2 separate regions of the Homo sapiens genome follow, and region 1 is linked to region 2. Evidence: promoter capture Hi-C in 16 types of primary human blood cells and fetal thymus (Javierre and others, 2016). All regions are on one chromosome and are shown on one strand. The core of a region is centred on a gene start or on the middle of the fragment in contact, and the rest is flanking DNA. Distances in the headings are between cores, read along the strand shown.

Region 1 (4,882 bases), core at 2,279-4,778, 1.4 Mb before region 2:
GTGGCGCATACCTGTAATCCCAGCTCCTCAGGAGGCTGAGGCAGGAGAATTGCTTGAACCTGGGAGGCAGAGGTTGCAGTGAGCTGAGATCATGCCACTGCACTCCAGCCTGGATGACAGAGCAAGACTCCATCTCAAAAAAAAAAAAAAAAAAAAAAAAAATCATTCACACTGTTTAATGGTGGGGAGGGGGGAGACCAGGGACAACGAACGACACAATGTATATTCTTTTAACTCTTTAGTAACAACAAAACTGGTACTACTCATAACCACTAAAATGTATCTGGGCATAAGTAACAATTTGGAGACACTGTTTAAAAATATTACCAAAAAGAATATCAGAGAGTGAAATGAATTGCAGGCAGAGGTGTAAATTATTTAAGGAAAGGCATATTGAAAATTGTCAGGCTCTGTGCAGATACACAGAGATGAACGTGCATTTCTTTTCTCCTTAGGCTGGAAAGATCAAGAACAGCACTTTATAATTCAAACGATGCATTTATTAACGGGACCTTAAACAAATTATTTAACCTCTCTGTGACTCAATGTCCTCAACTGTAAAACAAGGATAGCTGTTAGGGTTATTCTGAGGAATGAATTGAGTCAATATAAGAGCTTAAACAAGTTCCTTACACAGACTAAGGAATATGTAAGCGTTGACTATTTTAATCCTTAAAAAATACTCTGGGAAAAGGGTGCTGATCATTCAATGAGGAAAAGACAGTGTTTTCGATAAACGGTGTTGGAAAAATTGGATATCCACATGCCAAAAAATGAACTGGACCCTAACTTTATGACATATACCAAAATTAACTCAAAATGGATCAAGGACCTAAACTTAAGAGCTAAAACTATAAAACTCTTAGATGAAAACATAGGGAGAAATCTTCATGACATTGAATCTTGCAATGATTTCTTGAATATGACACCAAAAGCACAGGCAACAAAAGTATAGATAAATTGGACTTCATCAAAATTTAAAACTCATGCATCAAAGGACACCATCAAGAAAAAGACAACCCAAAGAATGGGACAAAGTATTTGCAAATTAAATATTAACATCCGGCATATATAAAGAACTCCTGCAACTCAACCCAAAAACAAACCACTCAATTCAAAAATGGGCACAGAAGGCCCAGCGCAGTGACTCACACCTGTAACCCCAGCAATTTGGGATGCTGACGTGGGAGGGTCGCTTGAAGCCAGGATTTAGACCAGCCTGGGCAACAAAGTGAGACTTAGTCTCTAAAACAAAAAATAAATTAGCGGGCATGGTGGTATGTGTCTGTAGTCCCATTTACTTGAGAGGCTGATGTGGGAGGATTGCTTGAGGCCAGGAATTCAATGCTGCAGTGAGCCATCGTCTCAAAACTGCACTCCAGCCTGGGCAACAGAGCAAGACCCTGTCTCTAACAAATAAGAAAAAAGAAAAGCAAGCAAGTAAGCAGGGATCCCCGCATAGCAATGTCCCCTAGCAGCATTATCCACAACAGCCAAAGGAAGACACAACTGGAATGTCCATCAAAAAATGAACAGGTATACAAAATTTGCCATATAAATAAATGGATTATGTTATGCAGTTATAAAGAAGAATGAAATTCTGAGACATACTAAGACATGGATGAACCTTGAAAATACTATGCTAAGTGAAGTCAAAAACAAAAGGACAAATATTGTTACGATTTCACTTATATTAGGTGCCACAAATTGACAAATTCATAGAGACAGAAAGCAGAATAGAAGTTACCAAGGAGGTAGATGGGGAGGGGCAAATTACTGCTTAATGGGTACAGTTTTGTCCCTTTGGAGAAGTAAGGATGGGGAGTTATCCTTTAATGGATATAGAATTTCTGTCTAAAGTTATAGGAAACAGTGGTGATGGTGGCACAACATTGTGACTGTATAGTCATGTCTGGGTATCTGGGGGATTAGTTTCAGGACCTCCAGCAAGACACTAAATCACAGATGCTCAAGGGCCTAATAGAAAATGACATGGTATCTGCACATAACCTACGACCATTCTCCCATATACTTTAAATCATCTCTAGATTACTTATAATGCCTAAGGTAAATGCTATGTAAATAGTTGTTATACTGTATTGTTTAGAAAATAATGACAAGAAAAAAGTGTGTACATGATCAGCACAAATGCAATTTTTTTTCTCCAAATATTTTCTATCCACATTTGGTTCAATCCATGGATACAGAGGGCTGACTGTCCTTAATGCCAATGAATTATACTCTTACAAATGGCTAAATGGTCAATTTTATGTTATATATATTTTATCATAAGCCACTAAAGATTCTTACACAGGAGAACAATCTATGTATCATTTTAGTAAAATTTAGACTGAGAGTGCATAAAGCATAGAGGTTAAAAAAAAAGAAAAAAGGTTTAAAATAGGGTTGGAAAGGAAATGAAATAGGTGCTGGAGAAACTATGCCCTCAGTCTAAACTGGGACAGCATTAACTTTGATCTAAGAGGATTCTTACAAGATTTTACTGAATACAGTTGTTTCTGAGTCTAATACTGACCCGTCATATACATAATTCTGGGGTTCTATTGACAATGAGTTTAGACAGGATGTATTAATGGCCAATAAGTTCGAGGAATATTAAAGGTAAATACAATAATCTTACCAGATTTGTAAACGTAATATAAATATGCTTTTGAACTTACTCTAAATCCAAACATTAATTTTCCCTCGGTTTTTACAAAGAAAAAAAATTTTAATTCCACTAAAATACCTTTTTAAATGTAACAGTTCCTTACCAATCAATGTCTGCAGTTATGCTTATGCTTAAGTGACACCACACTGATAGAAAAAACCTTCCTTCGCAGCAATGTTTCCCCAGTTTTCTCACTTCAATCAATATTTATTTATTATTTTATTATCTCTCCCACTGCTATGGTAAGGGAGAAAAACAATATATCATTGAGGGACAAAAATATAAAAGCTTCGACGGGCCAGAATTAGAATAAGTGAACTAAAAGTGAGGTGAGGTTCCTTATTGAAATCCTATCTTCCCTTTTCTACTGTGGCCTAGATACTTAATGTACTACAGGTATTCCCCTATTATTAAGAATACAGACATCACAAAATTGCTAAAAATGAGAAGACACATTTATAGAATTCTAACATTCCTTTTAGGTGTTTTATATATATGACATCACTTATCCTTTTAAATTTAGTAAATGCAAAATTCCGTATATCATATGGGTACTCTAGCCCACCATATGAAATGCAAGGTACTATCCTTTTTCAATTCAGTGTAAGAGAGACTGGTCCAAAAATAAGTCTTAACTTGTTTTCATATCTATCTGCATCCATTCCCTAAAACGATATAATCCTAATGCCACCATTTATATACTCAACATTTAGTGAACCATCTAGTAGAAACTTTGTTTTTTGCTCTGAAATTCAAAATGGAATTTTGTGTTTATACAGTTATTTGGACAAGAAAGTGTGTTACATAAACAGTGATACCAGCAGTAGACTGCTCCAAGTTAGATGTATAAATAACGCCAAGGGGTCAAGGAAAATAAAGCGGAAACCTCTCATACTTCTAACTAAATACTATCGACATACACAAGGAGAGATCTGTGAAACACACACACACGCTGAAATCTTGGTTCTCAACGCCGAGTTCCAACATGTCATTCTTACAAAGGAACTTTACTACACATCCACTATAAAAGGTCCACCTTTTCTACGACCTATAATTTTGTTGATATTTACCAAAGACAGTTAACATTTTTCAAGATCCCTGTCCTCTTAAGTGAAAAAACAGAGCCGGGTCAAACTAAGACATCCGGCCAACTGTCCACCTGAAATATATTATATATGTACTGTCGTGTGTGACCAGTTGCAATCGCATACATAGGGGAGCCTAAGCTACAAGTTAGTGGCCGAACGAGGAAGAAAAAAGTTCAAATAATTTAAAAAGCACCCTAACCCAACGTTAACTTAGTTCGAAATGCATTAGCAGAAATTCAGGACTCAGAGCTACGCATATTAGTTAGATCGCCCCATCTGAATCTTCAAAGGCTTTAGAGAGATGTAGGTGGTGAAGAGAAACAAAGTGTTCGGTAAATTAAGCTTTTGGAGCTCTGGAGATGCAAATGACAGCTGGCTCTGCAGAAAGAAGGGGTCAGGCTCAGGCAAGGGTGGCTGCGGAGACTCCCACAGGCTGGAAGGAATAGGGGCGGGCCACCCCCAAAACCAGTTTGTCAAAGAATTGAAAAGGAGCAGGTGAGAAATCTCCTGAGCTGGAGAAGCCGGCCAGCCAGGCCCCCGAGCCCGTCTAGGAACCCCTGTGCATAAATGGGGGTTCACACCCGAGAAACGAGGCCTAATTCCGGCAGCTCCTGGGGCTGCGGCGACTGCCGGACACTCCGGGGCAGCAGACGGCTAGGAAACCAGGGCCAACAAAGAGTGAAAGGAAAGCAAGGAAGGACAGACGGGGACCCACAGAGCTCGAGCCTGGCCTCACCCTCTCATGGTGAACTTGACCACGGCGAGTCTGGAGCCCGCGCCGCTCAGCTCTGGCTGGAAATCCGGGTCGCTCCCGACGGGCTTCACCCCCACCATCCTCACAGAGAGCCCGGCAGGGTGGCCGCGACGCCACTGGCTTTGAAACTGAAGGAGAAGACGATCTGGGAGAGGAAGGAGAGATGCTCAGGAAGGCCGAGGCCTGGACAGAAGAGGTGGCGACCGCCGAGTCTTCTCCCGGGACTCTCAGTGCCGAGTCACGCCAGGGAGCGGAGCGGCCGAGGGGGCGGGGAGGGATGGGGGAGGGGAGAGGAGGAGGATGGGAAGGCGTGCGGCACCCAGCAGCCACCGCGCGGCAGGGCCCCCGGCGTGACGTCATTTCCGCGTC
Region 2 (7,176 bases), core at 3,987-6,486:
CACTCTTGCTCTTGCTCTCACCATGTGACGTGATGGCTGCCCATCGCCTTCCACCAATGATTGTGAGCTTCCTGAGGCCTCCCCAGAAGCAAATGCCAGCACCATGCTTCCTGTACAGCCCACAGAACCGTGAGCCCATTAAACCTCTTTTCTTTATAAATTACCCAGCCTCAGGTGTTTCTTTTCTTTCTTTCCTTTCTTTCTTCCTTTCTTTCTCTTTCTTTCTTTTTTCAGGGTCTGGCTCTTTTGCCCAGACTGGAGTGCAGTGGTGTGATCTCGGCACACCTCAGCCTCAACCTCCCAGGCTCAAGGGACCCTCCTGCCTCAGCTCCTTGAGTAGCTGAGACTACAGGCGCAAGCCACCAGGCCCAGCGAATTCTTGTATTTTTTGTTTTTAGAGATGAGGTCTCACTTTGTTGCCCAGCTGGTCTCGAACTCCTGGACTCAAGGGATCTGTCCACTTCAGCCTCCCAAAGTGTTGGGATTACAGGTGTGAGCCACTGTGCTTGGCCTCAGGCATTTCTTCATTAATAGCATTGCAAGAATGGCCTAATGTAGCTATTTTTATACAAAAAGATGAGCTATTTACAAGTCATTCTTTGCTACCCACCTCTATATTTGTCAAAAATTTGAAGCATAATATAGATTTCTTATATGATCATAAACGGCTTAAATTTGTTACATTTCTGTGTGTCAAGGAATGGTGCTGAGTTCCAAGATGATACCAGTTTTTACAGGTTTGTGGCCATCTTCGAAATGTCTGCTTAATAGGCCTTCTTTTTAAAGAAGACAAATCATCACTGAAAATTGAAGAGAAAAATCGAGTGTTATTTATATGAAACTTAAACATGTGACATTATGTATTCTTCTTCTTTGGGTACTTCCCAGATGTGATTATGATCTACATAGTTTTGCTAAGACAACTCAATAATTTGTAAAGAGGCTTAGCATTAAAATGTTCCCTATTTGTGATTACCCATTGTACTTTAAAATTGTTCCTGCTAATTTTTCATTTCTGATGATCCAAGTGAAGAGTATTTGCCAAACACCCACAGTATCAAATCTAAGATGCTAAAGGCAGCCTGCAAAGGGAACAAAGGGAAACGAATTCTAGAGGAGACTCTACAAGTTAAGGTTCTATGTAATTGTTGGGTAGATGCAAAACGGACTGGAGGAAACATTGCTTTTGATACACCTGCTGAATAGTTCCCTTTAAGGGTTGTCCTCCCTCACCCCCAAAGAAATTGGATTACTAGGTTGGGCTAGGTGGCTCATGTCTGTAATCCCAGCACTTTGGGAGGCCGAGGCAGGTGGATCACGAGGTCAGGAGATCGAGACCATCCTGACTAACAAGGTGAAACCCCGTCTCTACTAAAAATACAAAAAATTAGCCGGGCGTGGTGGCGGGCGCCTGTAGTCCCAGCTGCTTGGGAGGCTGAGGCAGGAGAATGCCGTGAACCCAGGAGGCGGAGCTTGCAGTGAGCCGAGATCACGCCACTGCACTCCAGCCTGGGCAGCAGAGCGAGACTCCATCTCAAAAAAAAAAAAAAAAAAAAAGAAAGAAAGAAAAGAAATTGGATTACTAATCTGAGACTTCAGAGTAGATGATGGGTAAACTGATTGATGATGCTAGTCTTCTAAGTATGTTTGTTTATATTCTACCTCACTCCACAAAAGATTTGAGTGTGTTTATAACATGCAATTTCCTCTAAGTTGAAAAAAAACGAATGAAAAAACAGAGTGGTGGAAAATATATAAAGAAAAGGCATATAGGCTGGGCTCAGTAGCTCATGCCTGTAATCCTAACACTTTGGGAGGCCAAGGTGGGAGGATCACTTGAAGCCTAGAATTCGAGACCAGCCTGGGCAAGGGAGACCCCATCTCTACAAAAAACAAAAAACCTTAGCCGGTACAATGGTGTGCTCCTGTAGTCCCAGCTACTTGGGAGGCTGAGGTGGGAGGATCACTTGAGTCCTGGAGTTTGAGGGTACAGTGTGCTGTGATCATGCCACTGTTCTCCAGTCTGGACAACAGAGCAAGAACTTGTCTCTCGGGGAAAAGGAAAAGAAAAAGAAAAAAAAAAAGAATAGTAATATAAATCTAGGCCAGATGTCTCTAAACTTGGCAGTGGTGCATTAGGATCACCTGGGGAACTTTTAAAGCTCCTGATGCCCATGTGGCACCCTGTACTAATTAAATCATAACGCCTGGGAGTGGGAGGCAGAGAGGAGCAGTAGTAAAAATTCCCAAATGTTTCTATGTATAGCAAAATTTGGAAACTAAGCTGATGTTCTCAGCCTTAAATGCACATTAGCATCACCTGGGAGGCTGTTGAAACTACTGATGTCAGAATCCATTAAATCATAGCCTCTGATGCTGGTTACCGGGCACTTAGTCTATTTGAAAGCTCCCCAGGTGATTGCAATGTACATGCTGAGTAGAGAACCACAGCACTGGGGGAAAGTTGGTATATAGTTACAAAAGGGATTTTTTTTAATGGGTTCTTTTATGGCTTAAGACCATGAAACTGGTTCTGAGCTTCCTGGTGGCCAAAGTAGATAGAAAAACACAGTCGGTTTTAATAATTTTGGTCATCTGCCATGCAAAAGCTTACCAGTTTCTTGAAAGCAAAAGAGCTTTTCTTCATAGATCTGAAATAAATGTCTAGTTTATTAGTCTTCTCACAGAGGATGTTGATGTCATGGATCACGATTTTATAAACACCCCACAATAAGTGACATATGGCAAGTTTCATATTATAGTTCCTAATAACCATCCCTCAGGGAAAGACAAGGACATGACCCTGAGTGCAGGGCTATAGGCTGTTGCGGTGGGTGTGTGGGAGTAGATGATAAAAGACAGGAAGAGAAACTGCCACACCCCTCTACAGTTTCCAGATAACATAGCCTTACCCAAAGGCGAAGCCTGGAATTGTGTACCTCCAGGATGTGGAAGGCGTGTCCTGTGTAATTAGAAATTATAATTTTCTATCAGCACATTTTAAGAATTATTTATTTATGTATTTATTTATTTAGAGACACAGGGTCTTTCTCTGTCATCCAGGCTGGAGTGCAATGGCACGATCATAGCTCACTGTAACCTTGAACTTCTGGGCTCAAGTGAACCTCTAGTCTTAGCCTCCTGAGTAGCTAGGACTATGGGCCCATGCCACCACACCTGGCAAATTTTTAATTTTTTTTTTTTTTTGTAGGGACAGGGGTCTCTCTATATTGCCCAGGCTGGTCTCGAACTCCTGGCCTCAAATGATCCTCCTGCCTCTGCCTCCCAAAATGCTAGCATTATTATTCAATTACTTTTCTTCCTTTATAATATAAACTGTACAAATTTTACAAAGGTTTGGCTAGTGAGGGTAGGTAGAGAAGCACTGACTCCCATCCATGAGGGTCACAGGCTAGGGCAAGGGCATCTGAGAATGCGTGTGTGTGTGTGTGTGTGTGTGTGAGAGAGAGAGAGAGAAAGACAGAGTGTGCACGTGTACCTTTTGTTTATCAAAAGACTTTAGGGTTGTTTTTTTTTGTTTTTGTTTTTTTTGAGACGGAGTCTCGCTCTGTGGTCCAGGCTGGAGTGCAGTGGCGCAGTCTCGGCTCACTGCAACCTCCGCCTCCCAGGTTCAAGGGATCCTCATGCCTCAGCCTCCCCGAGTAGCTGGGATTACAGGCGCCCGCCACCACGCCTGGGTAATTTTTGTATTTTTAGTAGAGATGGAGTTTCACCACATTGGCCAGCTGGTCTTGAACTACCGATCTTATGATCCGCCCGCCTCAGCCTCCCAAAGTGCTGGGATTACAGGTTTGAGCCACCGTGCCCGGTCTAAAGACTCGAGGTTTGAAAGGGTTGAAAAACCTCAGTATTGAAAGAATGGACAGAAATCTGACTTTTAAATAGTCCTCCATAAATAGTTCTCATTGGGGGTTTTGTGGCCTGTAAGTACTGTGGACTTGACGGCTCAAGACTTCTAGAGAAGGCTTCTGAGTAGGATGTTGACTCCATGGGGCTAAGTCGTCAAAGGAAACCCATTCTACGGCACAGGTTTTAAGCCAGTCATGCTGCAGGAAGGCAAAGGAGAGCTTAAGGTAGCATGGGTGGGCTCTTTTGAAAACGAACTAGCAGGGCGAACAGCAGATATTTAGTTATGTAGCTGGCAACGAGGAATATGATTCCTTCGGGTCACGCGAGTTCTCTCTGAACTTCCTTGAATGAAAATCCTAAATGCATCCTGGTAATACCCAAGTAGGCACTTTGACGTTTCCTTTTCAAAGGCAAATGGAATGTTCTGCGTCTGTTTTCTTTTTGAACTCCCAACTGCACTTAACATCTAAATTTAAGGAAAGGCTTCCGAAAAAGTCGACTGACGAATTTCTTTCACTTATTTAAAGTAGTCTCTTGCAGTCCTATAAATCGGAAGGATTAAATGAACTGCTTGCTAGAGAAACGGTAGCTGGGTGGTGGGAAGAATCCTACGGTGGCTAATAAGACGTCTCGATCATTTGCATATGCAAAGGATAACCTTAAGCTTGAGTTTGATATTTCACGTTGCGGCTCACAAATGAACTGCTTTTTATTCAAAGAACCATGCTGTCTGTTTTCGCGTGGGTGGGTGTGTAACCGGGGCGGGCGCTATGTTGGTTTTGTTCCCTGCAAGGTTGACACAGGCAATGGCGACTTGCGGCCACACTGGGGCAGCCTCTCCTCGGCTGGCAGCCGGGCCGGGCGGCTCGCTCCCGGGAGCTGACAATGTAGCCAAGTCCTGCTCGTCGGGGCCGCAAAGAATTTAAAGGGGTCTAGAAACATCCATCTTTTCCCCTTTTCACAGTTAACAGCGAGCTCAGGGCTCTCGGTAAAAAGACCACCGGGAGGAAGAAACGCTCAGGGCGTTTTTGTTATTGTTCGCAAAATCCTCTATCGCCCCCAAACGTCCAGCCCGCCCCCTCCCTAAAGCGGAGGGAAACCGGGAGAGGAGGGAGGGTCGGCGGCGCCGGCCAAGCGCGCCAGTACACGCCCCTGCGGATCCGCCCCGCGGCCGGGTGACCCCCGCCGCGCCGCGCTGGAGGCCCCGGGCCGGGGTGGGCGTGGGGCTGAACTCCGCCACCCCCGCAGCCCGCGGCCCGCTCGCCAGCCCGGCCTGTGATTGGCTTGGGGGGCGCGTGTGCCCGCCCCGGCGAACGGGGAGGGTACCCTCGCGGCGCCGGTGGGAGGAGGCGGAGGAGGGGGCGGAGAGAGCGGGGGCCCGGACGGCGCTAGCGAGGAGGCGGGCGAGCCGGGTCCCCGGGAGCGCAGAGGAGGCTCGGAGGGGGGCGGAGAGCGGCGGGGCGGGAGGGAGGCGCGGGTCGCGGGGAGGGAAAGCCCGGCCGGGTCTGCGCCGCCGCCGCGCGCAGTGAGAGGCGCCGGGGCTGCCGCCCGGTGCTCGGCGCGCTCTCGGGAGCCGCCCGCCCGCTGGTCCCGCAGCCTTCCGGGAGGAAGCGGTGCCGGCAGCGTCCAGGGCGCGCTCTCGGGCACCCTCACCTGCCGGCGCCCGGCCGCTTACCCGGCAGGGCGTGCGCAGGGTAGGGTGCGGGACCGGGGGGACCTGGAGGCAGAGGGGAGAACCGGCCGTCCGCGCCGCAGCACAGCCGCTGGGAGCGCCTCAGACCCCGCGCGGGGCGCCGGCTCCATGGCGACCGGGCTCGGGGAGCCGGTCTATGGACTTTCCGAAGACGAGGTGAGTGGCACCCCCTTCCTGCTCGGGACTCCCCGGGGAGTTCCTATCCCGCGCCGGCAGGGGGAGGGGAAAGGGGCCGTCCCCGGGGTGCTCGTGCCCAGCGTCTGCAGGGGAGCCCCAAAGCGGGAGCGCCCCGGAGCGGGATCCAGGGGAGCTTGGGTCCTTCCGCACCCCCCACCCTCCGCAAGCCGAGCTCATTGTTTGTAAATAAAGCGGCGCGACGCCCTTGGAGCTGGGGGTTCACTCCGCAGCTCCTCGCTTTCGGGAGGAGAGGGAGGGGGCATGCGTGCCTCTCTTCCCTCTTCCTCTCCAAGCAGCGTCTCCCGGGGCTGTTGGGCAACTTTCCGCCTCTCGCCCCTGCAGCCCGGGAGTCCATGATGCATGTCACGTCTGGGTCGCGCGGCTGGAGACCCGGGACTGCGGAGAAGCCGGATCGTTTCCCCCTGGAACTTTCTCTCTCATGATTGTGTGGATCAGCAGGCGCTCAGAAGCCTGTGCGTGCTTATCCCGGCGGGAATGGGGGACACGCTGCGTGTGTCCCTCCCCTCGTTTTGCAAAGTCTACGGCCAGGATTGTGGATTTCGGAGCCTCGGTGGGGGAGGTGTTCAAGGCTGGTGGCAGGTGCTCCTGGAAACTTGGGGAGGAAGCTTGCAGCCCTGCCATTTTTTCCTCCCGAGGATTCAAAGCCCGGCACCTCCAGGGTGGGTGGGGAGAGGAAAGCTTAATTGATCTCTTTTATTAATAAAGCGACTGAATAAGCCACGCCTCCCAGGCGGTCGGTTTCACTGGAAAGGGCTTTGTTTTTACCTTCATTCTCTCTTCCGTGTCTCCCACTCCCCCCTTTTGAAACAATCCTGCTAAATCACTGCCTAGTCCTCTCTCGACCAGCCACGCTCGGCTCTTATTGGTATGTTGCTCTGCCAAAAAGGGGGGTGGGACGCTTGTCGCGGGCGCGGCGTGACAGGCAGGCTGGATGGAGCAGGTAGGAGTGGTTTGCCATCTGGCGGGGTGCGCGCTCAGGTCTGGCTCCCCTTTCGAGAGGTGAATTTTACAACCCAAGAAGCATTACTCAGCAGGGAGGTATTTCCTATCCTGGTTGTGCATTTCATGAAAAGTTGATGCCTGGAAATTCAGGCGTTCTCGATTTCTCTTTCTTCCCCTCCCTCCTTTCTTTTCAGAGGTTCCCTCTTTCTCTCGTGTTGGGGGTGGGGTTGGAAGAAAGGCTATTATCTGAGACAGGCTCGCGTTATGGCTCCGCTTTCTGCGGCTCTCCTACCCTGGCATGGTGTGTGTGTGTGCCTGTGTGCTACGTAAGTGTGGAATGAAAGGTATTTTGGGGTGGGAAGGGTGTTTAGGGTATGAATTTTTTTCTTAGCGGTGCTAGGCAAAGCTTGATGTATTTATTTGATCAAAGAATGATCACAGTGCAAATAATGTGTGATTTGTGTGTTTATTTT

The links. Contacts are between HindIII fragments. The CHiCAGO score rates a contact against its expected background, and 5 or more counts as called.
Region 1: a contact is called between a fragment that was not itself captured here and the fragment with the promoter of NEDD4L in region 2, in 2 of 17 cell types (activated CD4 T cells and fetal thymus). The highest score is 5.9, in activated CD4 T cells.

Annotation. Positions count from the first base shown.
Region 1 is chr18:56,633,848-56,638,729 of GRCh38, forward strand. TXNL1 (thioredoxin like 1) reads right to left here and starts at 4,745. Exons shown (of 8, transcript NM_004786.3): 1 at 4,496-4,745. The coding sequence starts at 4,593. RefSeq lists enhancers at 3,797-4,782, 4,564-4,623, 4,783-4,882 and a silencer at 4,774-4,882. The HindIII fragment of the contact is 1,142 bases long and covers 2,958-4,099 here.
Region 2 is chr18:58,038,990-58,046,165 of GRCh38, forward strand. It overlaps NEDD4L (NEDD4 like E3 ubiquitin protein ligase), which reads left to right and starts at 5,237. Exons shown (of 31, transcript NM_001144967.3): 1 at 5,237-5,719. The coding sequence starts at 5,672. RefSeq lists a cis regulatory region at 2,630-3,042 and silencers at 4,932-5,301, 5,322-5,871. The HindIII fragment of the contact is 1,832 bases long and covers 4,533-6,364 here.